3 separate regions of the Homo sapiens genome follow, and regions 1 and 2 are each linked to region 3. Evidence: promoter capture Hi-C in 16 types of primary human blood cells and fetal thymus (Javierre and others, 2016). All regions are on one chromosome and are shown on one strand. Each heading gives the region's core, a stretch centred on a gene start or on the middle of the fragment in contact. The rest is flanking DNA. Distances are from core to core; before and after follow the strand shown.

The links. Contacts are between HindIII fragments. The CHiCAGO score rates a contact against its expected background, and 5 or more counts as called.
Region 1: a contact is called between a fragment that was not itself captured here and the fragment with the promoter of CEACAM18 in region 3, in 7 of 17 cell types (megakaryocytes, M2 macrophages, erythroblasts and 4 more). The highest score is 11.1, in megakaryocytes.
Region 2: a contact is called between a fragment that was not itself captured here and the fragment with the promoter of CEACAM18 in region 3, in 3 of 17 cell types (megakaryocytes, erythroblasts and monocytes). The highest score is 6.7, in megakaryocytes.

Annotation. Positions count from the first base shown.
Region 1 is chr19:51,583,969-51,587,983 of GRCh38, reverse strand. It overlaps ZNF175 (zinc finger protein 175), which reads right to left. Exons shown (of 5, transcript NM_007147.4): 5 at 1-1,357. Among named protein-coding and RNA genes, the nearest start is that of LINC01530, 8.4 kb to the left of the region's middle. RefSeq lists a silencer at 92-292. The HindIII fragment of the contact is 1,592 bases long and covers 1,956-3,547 here.
Region 2 is chr19:51,558,657-51,562,983 of GRCh38, reverse strand. No RefSeq gene overlaps it. Among named protein-coding and RNA genes, the nearest start is that of ZNF175, 10 kb to the left of the region's middle. The HindIII fragment of the contact is 4,287 bases long and covers 1-4,178 here.
Region 3 is chr19:51,477,289-51,481,268 of GRCh38, reverse strand. It overlaps CEACAM18 (CEA cell adhesion molecule 18), which reads right to left and starts at 2,730. Exons shown (of 6, transcript NM_001405061.1): 1 at 2,575-2,730; 2 at 589-936. The coding sequence starts at 2,626. The HindIII fragment of the contact is 9,749 bases long and covers 1-3,980 here.

The DNA.
Region 1 (4,015 bases), core at 1,502-4,001, 110 kb before region 3:
CTCTGATGCATGCTGAGTATTGACTTCTGGTTGAAGGCTTTCCCGCATTCACTGCATACATGGTGTCTTTCTCCAGTATGAATTTTCTGGTGTATATTCAGGTGTGACTTTTGGGTGAAGGTTTTTCCACAGTCACTGCATTCATAAGGTTTCTCCCCTGTATGAATTCGATGATGTATATCAAGCTGTGACTTGGAAATGAAGGATTTCCCACAGTTGTGGCACTGATAAGGTTTTTCTCCTGTGTGGCTTCTTTGATGGACAATCAGGTGTGCCTTCTGGATGAAGGCCTGCCCGCATTCGATACACACATAGGACTTCTGCCCTGAGTGGATTCTCTGGTGCAAGCTGAGTGTTGACTTCTGGGTAAAGGCTTTCCCACATTCACTGCATGCATACTGTCTCTCACCAGTATGAATTTTCTGATGTATAATGAGGGTTGAGTTTTGGGAGAAGCCTTTGCCACATTCACTGCATTCATAGAGTTTTTCTCTACTGTGAGTTCTCTGATGTCTGAAGAGAGATAACATCTGGAAAAAGGCTTTTCCACAGTCATGGCATTTATAGGGCTTCTTTCTAGTGTGTGTTTTCTGGTGCGTAAGCAATTCTGATCTCTGAATAAAGACCTTCCCACATTCCTTGCATATACAGGGTATATCACCTGTATGATCTGTCAGATATACACTGAGTTTTAGTTGTGGCATGAAGGCTTTTCCACATTTGCCACATTCATGGAGGTTTCCTACACTATGAATTCTCTGTTGGGCAAAGAGGTGTGACTTCTGGGTGAAGCTCCCCCCACATTCAGAACATCCATCTGGTTTCTTCTGAGTATGAATTTGATGTTGCTTGAGTGACTGTTTATGGCCACAGACTTTTCTACACTGGTTACCTTTGCAAAATGTCTCTCCTGTATGAATATTCTTGCTGCAGGCATCAGAAGAGCTATGGCTGAATAGCTGACCAGACCCAACAACGTCATCAAGCTGTTCTGTGTCATTGCTTTCATTCTGACCGTTCACTTCTAGGTTCAGCTTCAAACTTTCTGTAAATAAGCAACATTTCTGAGGTTGTTTCTGTGAAGAAGCAAGGTGGGGCCTCGTGCGAATCATTTTCCCAGGGTCCTTATATTCACAATTGCTTTCTGTGTTCAATGTTTTCTTGTTGAAGAAAGCACTGTGACTCATGGGTTGAATTTGATTTTGCTCATCTTTCTTTGTGCGGTCAGCATCCAGCCTCAGTTCTTCTAAAATGGAACACCATGAACCATCTCTTGTGAACTCACCTACCATATCCTTTTGAAATGAAGCTTTCTTAGAAATCTCCTTTTGTGGGATTTCAAGCCCAAACTCCCTTTCTAAAAGGAGAAAGAGAAGATGAAATAGACACAATGAACAAGAAAGAGGAGAAACTGCATGAAGCTGATTGACACAGAACACAAGGAAATTGCTGAGTCATGTAATAATGCTGCTAATGATGCTGACAATGAGCAGAAACACAGAGCCCTTATTACATGATGAGCATTTATCTACATAGCACTTAGCATGTGCCAGGCAGTGGCCTACATGGTGCACACATACTCATTTAATCTGCATAATAACCTCAGGAGGTAGCGATGATGGGTGTTCCTGTTTTACAAAGAAAAGGAAGCACATAATGGTTATGTAATTGGCCAAGATCACTTTGCTAATCTGTGGGGATTAGATTTCAACAACCTGAGGACACTTATGCAAGTGGTCTAGACACCCAGATCTAGTAGGATGAGTAGGATAAAACAGACAAGTGTTGCAGGGCAACATGTGTGGGCAGCCAAGGCTTGAAGGAGGGGGCTCAGTGTGTAGGTCTTCATTAACTTTCAGAGATGAATCCTCACCAATCTGCCTGCTTTATCTTACTTGTTAGAAACAATGCCAAGTCCATCAGCCCTGTATATCCTTCTGAAAACTATTAAAGCTTCACCTATCTTGACATGGCCAACCAGTGAAAGAATGACTATGCCTCAACTCTCCTATGCCTCAACTCTCCATGAAGCTACAATTTTTTTTTCTTGAACTTAGGAATATACCCATATCCCCAGAAATATATTCTAAAAGACTGGACAAGCAAGCTGTTCCCCAGAATTTGTTTCACCCTTGTTCCATTGAAATTAATTGTTCTTTGTTAGAACTTTTGGCTTTATGCTATCAAATATGCCTTTTTTAGTTTAGTTTTTTGTTTTGTTTTGTTTTTTTGCCAAGAATAAGAGTCCCTGATCATCCTGTGCACTTTACTAGTATACTGCACAAAACACAGCAGGTTCTCAATAAAAATAATAGTTACTAAATTTTACTATTACTTTTTCTACCAGATTTTAATACTGAGTATGAACATCACATGTAGTTTCTTTTCGCTTTCAGTCACTTAAACTGTATCCCAGACTCTTGTCCTATCAAAAAAACTCAATCATCTTTCATTCTTTTTTTAAAAAAAGGACACTTTTAATCTTTATTGTTAACTTTTTCTTATTGTAGCAAAAGTGCATAATATTACATTTACCATCTTGCCCATTTTGTATTGTACAGTTCAGTAGTGCTACCTGTATTCACCCTGTTGTGCAATGGATCTCCAAAACTTTTACATCTTGCAAAACTGAAATGCTGTATCCATTAAACAATTTCCCTTTTCCCCCATCCCTCATTCTCTGGCAGCCACAATCTTATTCTGTCTCTATGAATTGACTACTTAAAGTACCTCATACAGGTAGAATGATACATTTGGATTTTTTGTGTCTGGCTTATTCACTTAGCATCATGATAAGATTCATCCGCACTGCAACATGTTTCATAATTCCTCTTCCTTTTTAAGGCTGAATAATATTTCATTGTATGTATAGACCACATTTTGTTTACCAATTCATTGGTCAATGGACAATTCCACTTTTTGGATATTGTGAATAGTGCTGCTATGAACAAGAGTGTACAAACAGCTGTTTGGGTCCTTGCTTTCAATTCTTGTGGGTATCTACCCAGAAGTGGAGTTGCTGGATCATATGGTAATTTTATGTTTAATTTTTGAGAAATCATCATCCTGTTTTCCATAGGACTACACCATTTTACATTCCCACTAGTAATACACAAGGATTCCAGTTTCTCTATATCCTTGCCAACACTTGTTATTCTGTTTTTTTAATTGTAGCCATTCTAATGGATGTAAAGGGATATCACCCAGTGGTTTTGATTTGCATTTCCCACATAATTAGTGAAGTTGAGCATTTTTTCCTATTATTGGCCACTTGTATATCATCTTTGAAGACATGTCTATTCACATCCTTTTCCCACTTATTAAAATAGGTTGTTTTCTATTTCATTTTTCACTCTTAAATAGCAATTTTACCCATATACAGGTGGTCATTTATTCTGGCAATCTTCCACTGTGTCCCCAGGCAGCGATCTGAAACATTTTTAACTTCTCACTTTATTCAGGTCATAAAAATCTTGCTGAACCTGGTAACACTTAAATTACTGCCCAAAATGTTCAATGTAAACTATCAGAACTGTACTGAAAAGCTTTTCCACAACTCTCCAACACAGCCTAACAATGTCGATTGCAAAAAAGAAGTCCAATTTATTCTCAAATCCAAGCACACTCTCATGTCCTCTATTCCCATTAAGCTTGCTTCATCTGCTTCTTTGTTTCAATTCAAAATGGCTTCTTGAACCAGTTATAGGTACTATGCCCTTAAAATTAATTCCCAATGTCACTCCACCTCTAGGCTGACATCATTTTTCTGAACTTCACCAGCATTTGCTATCCATGCTTCCCATGTTGATACACTTACTTTTTGAGTAGCCTTCCATGAAATAGACATGATTGATGCACAAAGGCTAATACTTTTAACATTTAATGCCATTGTCCTCTCCATCCAAATACAATCTCCGTTCTTTTGAATTTATCTCAGCAAATATTTAAAGCATCCTTTTAAAATACTGTGAAATATTCTTTTCTGCCCATTTTCAGAAAATCAGTAATTTCTGTA
Region 2 (4,327 bases), core at 786-3,285, 82 kb before region 3:
GCCCAGGCTGGTCTCAAACTCCTGAGCTCAAAGCGATCTGCTGGCCTCAGCCTCCCAAAGTGATGGGATTAGAAGTGTGAGTCACTGTGCCTGGCCTGGCAGCTTTCTGGAACTTCTCAGCTCTTTCCCCAACACTAACAGAACCAAATCTGAGAATCACATGTTGCCTTCCTGCCTCTTCATTCAGCCTCTCCTCTCTACTTTTCAACAATTTTAATTTAAGATTTTTTCCCAGGCGATTTATTCACATGATCTCATAAAGAAAAGATATAAGTGGGCATGTATAGAATGCACCTGTCTCACCTCTGCCCTCCAGATTCCTAGTTTGCTTCCTCTGAGGCCTCCATTGTAAACTGTTTTGGATACATTCATCCAGAGATGCCTTATGCATGTGTATCTTCATCTACAAGTAAATATAAAAATTTCATGTGAGCATGCTTTTTTACACACAAAACATCCTTGATACACTGTTCTGCACCCTATTTTTTTTTTTTTGAGATGGAGTCTCACTGTGACACCCAGGCTGGAGTCCAATGGCACTATCTCAGCTCACTGCAACCTCCACCTCCTGGGTTCAAGTGATTCTCCTGCCTCAGCCTCCCGAGCAGCTGGGATTACAGGCACCCGCAACTACACCTGGATAATTTCTGTATTTTTAGTAGAGATGGGGTTTCATCATATTGGCCAGGCTGGTCTTGAACTCCTGACCTCAGGTGTTACACCCGACTCGGCCTCCCAAAGTGCTAGGATTACAGGCATGAGCCACCGTGCCTGGCCTATTTTTTTTAAATTTAATAATTTTTGGAGATCTTTTTATGCCAGTAAATAAAGAACTTCATTCTTTTTCACAACTACAAAATATTCCATTGCATATATGTCATTTGCTACTTATAAACACTGCTACAATAAATAATACTTACATATATTTTGCAAGGAAGCTAATATGTCTGTATAAATTTGAATTATTTGATCAAAGGGCACATGCATTACCAATTCTGAGAGGTGTGGCCACATGGCTTTTCCCGTGGTTGTACCATTTTGCAATCCCCACGTCCTCCCCAGCCCATGCAATGTGTTAGTTTTTGCCTCACTCCAACCTCAACAACCAAATACGTTAGCAATGATTTTGATTTTTCCATGACTACTGATAAAAAATGTACCGCACCATAGCTTTAATTGCATTTCTCTAGCTGGGCATGAAGGTGAGGTTTAATTGACATTAACATTGTCCGTTCTGTTGTGTTCTGCCATGCTATGAACTGTCTGTTCATACAATTTCCTATTGTCATTAGCTTGTGCTTATTTTCTTCATGATTTGGATGTTATTTTTATATTAGGAAATGCAACCACTAATCCATAATATAATTGCAAATGTCTTTTCCAGTATTTTTGTCATTGGTCAGAAAAGTTTGTCAATTTCATCATTCTCTCCTGATTTCATTTAGCTTGGATGTGCCATGGAAGTTTTGTTTTATGTAGTTGAGTTTGTAAGTCTTTGCTTGTAAATCTTTGTTTATCATTCTGGCTCTCCCGCCTCTGAGATTATATATAATGTACATAGTATACATAATGTATGTGTATATATACACAAACACATATTTATATTTATGTTTATATTTAATTTACATTTATATTTATATATAATCTTGCCAAAGGTTCCTCTTTTCACCCTGTTCTCCACATGATTATGCACATTTCTATCCTCTTCCCTTACAGGATTAATTTCCATTCCCTGAAACTCCAAGGCCATTTCTAGTCATAGTTGTCTTTGCACTGCTCTTCCTTTCTCCCAGCATGGTCTTCTGCTCCAATATTGTCCACTGTCTGTTTCCACTTGTCCATCTCACTCTTCTTAAGCCCCTCCTCCTCCAGGGAGACCTCCCTGACTTTCTGTCTTATTGTGTTGCTCACCCTCCTTCACCTGAGTCACTCCATCACATCACCTGTCATATTGCAGAGTGAAGATCTAGTCCTGGGCCTCTTATAACCATTAGACTGTGACACCCTCAGGAGCTGATACCCTCTCAGTAGTACCTCATTTAAACAAGGATCAGTAAAGGGCTGCAGATTGAATAAATAAATGATTAGACTTTAGGGTAACTGGAGATGTTGGTAAAGATAGCAGGAAAGAGGGTGTGGGAACTAGGGGGTGGCCAGGAGATCTTGACTGGGATTCTCATCAAGGACAAAGTCCTTTCCTCTATTCCTGTACCTCACGGAGTCTGCATCTAAACTAACAGAATAACGGAGAAGGGGAAGAGACCAAACTGCATCATGAAGGGGAAGGGGGACCCCTCTGTACATCTGAACCCAAGGCCTGCATGTGCCTCTCTTGGTATCTCTCTTGCTGAGTTTCTCTTCTCCCCTCTATTCCCAGCACCTGTAGCCTTGGAGAATGCCACCTCCCTGTCAGTCCTGAAGAACCAATCCCTGCGTTTTGTTTATGTGACTGACAGCAACCCACCTGCCAGGCTGAGCTGGACCTGGGAAGGCCAAGCCCTGAATCTCTCCCAGTCGTCAGAATCAGCCGTCCTGGAGCTGCCCCCAGTGGAGTCTTGTGATGGAGGGGAATTTGTCTGCCAAGCTCAGCACCCTTTGGGCTCCCAGCATGTCTCCATTAGCCTCTCTGTGCAGAGTGAGTCATTGGTGGGAAGAATGGACAGGGCACCTGGATTCTAGGATGGGACTGTGAGTGGGATGAGGTCTAGGAGAAACACTTTATTCCTCTCCTCCCCTTCAGGTGACTCCGTTATCTCTATAGAAGAAGGCGTTTTACAGACCCTGGGTTTCACACTGATTAGGGGAATCCTCATGGGGACCAGCTGCACATTCATCTGTGGATTCACCTGGATCTGCTGCACTAGGTGAGCAGTGCCTTGCTCAGATGACCCAGTCTCTGAGCCCCCAAATTCCAAGGAAAAGTGGCCTGGTCTGTCTTCCTCAGGGTGAGCTCTCTGCAGCCCTAACTGCTAACCTCCTCTTACATTTTCTCACAGGATCAGAGGGTCCCAGAGAAGCATGGCTGGGAGAGTGGACTGAACTGATCTCTCTCCTCTGGACATGGTGAGAAGATGGACATTGAAGTCCAGAGGAACAGAGCCCCTGTATCTCTTACTAAAGCCCACCTCTCTGCATCTTGAATCACTTGCTGACTTGGTTCATCCAGAAATAATCTCTGTCCAGTTTCATATCCTATCTCCTGAACTGTACTGCTGGGCGAGATGGATGGATGGATGGATGGATGGATGGATGGATGGATGGATGGATGAATGAATGATTGGATGGATGGATGAGTGGCTGGCTGGATAGTTGATGGTTGGATGGACCGTCCATGACTGCTCTGCTCTCAGAACCTTTCCTTGCACCTCCTCTACATTGCTATGTACTCCAGATACTTCCTCTGCCAGACCACATTTATCAGGCATCTTTATTAGCCAGCTTCCAACTAGGTTCAGATAATGAGAGGCTAATGCTGGAGATTAAAATACAGGAAGAAAATGGAGAAGCAGCAGCATTTATTTTTTCCCTTCTCTCTGAATTGTGCAATCTCTTTGGTAGTGGCAGCACCCTCTCTGAGCCTCCAGCACTCAGACTCGGAGTGCTCAGCACTCAGCCTCTGGGTGCCCCTGATTACTGGGCTCTGGTGCACTGCCCTTTCCCTCTGTCCTCTAGCCTAGAAGTGGTGGTGGTTTCCTGCTGTTGTTCATTTCTAGGTTGCCTGATTGTCCTCTGTTTAATTTTTCATCCCTAACATCAACTGCGTAATCAATTTCTGCCATTAAATGTCCTCTGTTTTAAATATTTATGTGATTTCTTTTTTAGTAATTGGACTTTAACTGATACATATGGACACATGAATGGATGGATAAATGGAAACACGGACACACAGATGGATGGATGGATGGATGGATGGATGGATGGATGGATGGGTTAATAAATAGGTGGGTGGGGATTCTACTCAATGAATGTAACCCTCTTACCAGCCTTGGGATTTTACCCCAGACTTTTTCATTCCTGGTCCATTTCCTAAGCATCATCATTCTCTCTTAGTCTTAAACATGTTTACTTGTGCAATCAGGAATTTGTAGGTCAAACTTATTTCAGTGTTATTTTGTGGGATATTCCTGCTCCTTCCAATTCCAATCTAACTTTTGTACTTCCTATGAGCATTAAAAGCTTTTATTTTATCATGAAGAAGGAGTTCGTCTCAGATCCACACTTTTGTGTTCCCACCTTTCTATTTCCCCATAACCAGCCCAGTTGTTTACTTTATGGCCACCATTGCCCACAATCTTAGATATACTTCTGCCTATTTGATGACTGAAAA
Region 3 (3,980 bases), core at 1,481-3,980:
CCTGGCAAGGGAGCTGAGAAGGGCAGAGGAATAGGCACAGGGCAATGAGGCTGCTGAGGTGTGGGCCTTGCCTGAGCCACTGCCGTGCTGTCTGCTGCCATAATGGTGAGCTCTTGGCATAAACATGTGGCCTAATCATTGTTTCTGATCCTCCAAACCAGGACCCTCATCCAGGAGACACGAGAGGTTCTGAGTGAGAGGTGGCATTTGGCTACACAATACTACTCCATTATTTGAGTCCCATTCACTTTACGAATACTCCCTCCAACGCTACGACAAACCACAATGGTGGGTTCCTCCCCACTCTACAGATGAGGAAACTGAAGAACACAGAAGGAACACAAATGGGCCAGGGTCCTGCAGTATGTATTTGCAGCCACTGTCAAATACAGGACTGCTTGTCTTCCAACTCCGCCCTCTCCTCCCACTAGCCCTCAGATCCCCCAGGAGCTGTCCATGGTACACAAGATTCCAGGGCGGCTCCGTGATTTCCACTCCCGGTGTCATGCTCTGTATAATGTCCTTCTCTCAAATGTGTCACATCTAGCTCTCCTTGGGGGTTGGGAAACACAGCACCTGCTAACCCACCTAGAACCTCCAGCCAGCCGGTTGCTCTTTGGGTCTCATTGCCTGCAACCACCCGAACAGTGTAGTTTCCCGTGTCATTTAATGCAGTCGGCCTGATCAACAGGCTGCCTTCTCTGTTCACTCTCTCCCTGCCAGTGTACATGGGCCCAGGCTGCTGGGCACTGGGCGGTTTGTGGCTGATAATCATGTTTCCTGCGCTGTCGTTTGCACCCCAGTACCAGCTGTATTCCTGAACATCCTCAGGGACCTTATCCAGGGCCACGACAGTCCGATATCCCTTGATCCCCAGGGTTTGGGTGATGAAGATTTGGCCAGAGGCCTGGCAGATCCCACAGGCCAGCAGACTGGCTGAAGAAGACAAGGAAAAAAGACAGAGAGAAATTCACAAAGAGATTCAGACTGGCTGAGAAGACAAGGAAAAAAGACACCATCCGGGAACGATTCCCAGAGACGCTGGTGAACCAGGCAAGAGTTTCTGGCTCCTGGTAGAGTCCCCAGCTTGTCCCCTCCTGTGCCTCCCCTCAGCCCCTGCCGTGGTCCATTTTACCCTTATCTTCTCCCAGGCCCTCCTCGCTAGCCACACAGCCTCCAATCCATCCTCACATCACAGTTACGTAAATGTTAATAAGCCCAAGTTGCGACCCTGTTCTCCTCTGCTCAAACACCTTCCATGGCTCCCCAGTGCTCTTAGGATACAGTCCAAACTCTTAGGTGGGTATATGAAACACTCTCAGCCAGAGCTGGTGTTTGTGACTCATCGAGCCTCCTTGTGGTGCACACCTACCCCATCCTGTCCCCACTATGCACCTTTTACTCATTTATTCCTGTAGTTATTTATCAGAAGACATGACTGCCACGCTGTATGCCCCAGGCCTCTACATAGCTCTCTTGGTGCACCACACCTTCTCCTAACTCCAGGCTTCGCACACGCTGTTCCCCATTCCCGGCAGGGACTCCTTCTCCCTCCTCTCCATCTGCACCCTCCTTGCTGACTCACTTCTATTCATCACTCAGGTCTCAGCTTGGATGTCTCCTCCACCCCAGCCTGGGTCAGGTGTCCCCTCTGGGCTCCCCCAGCTCCTCCTGGGCTCCCCCCATCCCAGCCATGACCTCTGGGGGTCCTCAGAGTCTGGGCACATATCTATATCTCGCCCTGGACTGTGGGCTCCAGGAGGGCAGGACTGCCCTGTCTCAGTCACCACTGAGTCCCCAGCGCCCCTGAGCACAGGCTGGACACAGGGGGAGTTCAGTAATGATTGTCTGGGTGAGAAATACTCCCCCGAGAATTTCTACATGTCTTTGATTTTGCATCTAAATTCACTGGAGTGGGTGTGAATGGAGGCGGCAGCCTGTTACCACATATGACATGGGCAGTTGTCCACTGCCCTGTGAACCCCAAGCCTGGGCTATGTGGAGGAGGCAGAGATGCCTGAGACCCCGGCTCTAGGCCTCACGTATGGACACACTGGACCTGTTCAAGGACAGTACACGTGGTAAAGCAGGACAGTTGTGCTTGTAGGGGGCACAGAAGGTCCTGGGCAAAGGTGAGGGGCTGGGAAGGAATCTGGCCTGAGAGGTGGGGGAGGGGATGGGGCAGATTGGGGCACCCAGTGGGAGGTGAGTGCAGGGAGGTGAGGGTGAAGGTCCAAGCTCCTGATTCCTGGGCGTAGATAGAAACACAGTTTCTCTCTCTCTCTCTCTGTGTGTGCGCGCGTGTGTGTGTGTGCATGTGCGTGTGCGTGTGTGTGTAACACCACATGTGTGGGTCTGTGCAGGGGTGTGTCTAGGGGCAAAGTGTGCCCACGTGTGTGAGCTCATGAAAGTTGTGCTGAGGGTCCTCCCCCTTCTCCTCTCCCCGACCCCTGCTCTGGGAGTTTCTTGATGTGCCCGTGGATGGGGATGGTCCCAGCCCCCTCCCCGCCGCTTTGCTCCTAGCTGCCCTTCCCTCAGTCCTGGGAAGCTCATCCAGCATCCAGCATCTCTTACCCATGAGGAAGACCCTCCTCCACAGGCTCCATCTGGGTCTGGAAAGGTCCATGAGCTGCCTGGGGTCCTCCAGGAGGAGGGGTCCCTCCAGAGACACAGCCACCTCCTCTGCTCCCTCCAAGACCTGTGTCTCCTGGCACAGAGGCTGCCGGTCTCGTCTCCCAGCCTTCAGGGCGGCCTTTCCTCCCCAGGGTGCACTCTGACCAGCAGGGGTGGGGCCTGGGGAAGACGGCTCTTGAGAGCCCAACCTTATCTTTATGGCTTTATGTTGCCTTTAGTTCATTATTTATTTACTTATTTTTATAATAATTTACATTTTTTTCTCTGGTCATGAAAAAACGGAAAAACACAGGCTCACTGTTGGGAAAACAAAGAAAACCAGAAAATACAGCCAAGTGCCTCAAAGATAGGACATCAAACTCCTCAACTGTATGTCCTGTTTCCATTTGGTTTGGTTTTCCTATGCAGGGCCCAGCTTTTTTTTTTTTTTTTTTTTTTTCACGGAGTCTCGCTCTGTCACCAGGCTGGAGTGCAATGGCATGATCTTGGCTCACCGCAACCTCGTCTTCCGGGTCCAAGTGATTCACCTGCCTCAGCCTCCCGAGTAGCTGGGACTACAGGCTCGTGCCACCACACCCAGCTAATTTTTGTGTTTTTAGTAGAGACGGGGTTACATCATGCTGGCCAGGATGGTCTTGATCTCTTGACCTCGTTATCCGCCCACCTCGGCCTCCCAAAGTGCTGAGATTACAGGTGTGAGCCACCGTGCCCGGTGTAGGGCCCAACTTTTAGACTGCCTGGGGCTGTTTTACAACTGGCTGCTTTCCTCCTCAACAGTGGACTATTTCTCTATGTCACTAAATATTCCTCCCATGACCATTGTGAATGGCTGCAGGGAATGCTCTTCTAGACCTGAACCAGTGTGTGTATAACCAGATCCCTTTGTGAAAGTGCTCACAAGCCAAAAAAATCCCTGAGAAATACAGTGGGGAAGGCTGTGAAGCGAGGGCTCTCTGACAACAAAAATTTTCACAGAAGACGCTGCAGAAACCATAGTCTTGCACAAAAGCCATTGCTTCCTTCCACCAAAAAAATACTTCTGTGACAAGTATTTGGACAGCAACCTCCGGTCCAAACTTGGACTGACGTCACCCTCATTAGGGATCCTTGTAGCCTAGGGTAATTATCTCAAACCATTTATGGGGTCCTCCTCATTTTTCCATTGAAAACCCTTTGTGTTCTTTTACCTCCCTGAATATGCACGTAGTTTACTATAGCACCCAGATTCCCATTGCAATGCCCCATTCCTGAATACATATCATTTTCTTTTAGAGAGCTTCTCTCTGTTTGTTATTTAGGTTGACACTTTGTTGTTGGAGGGTCAGGCTGTTTCTAAAAACAGGGAT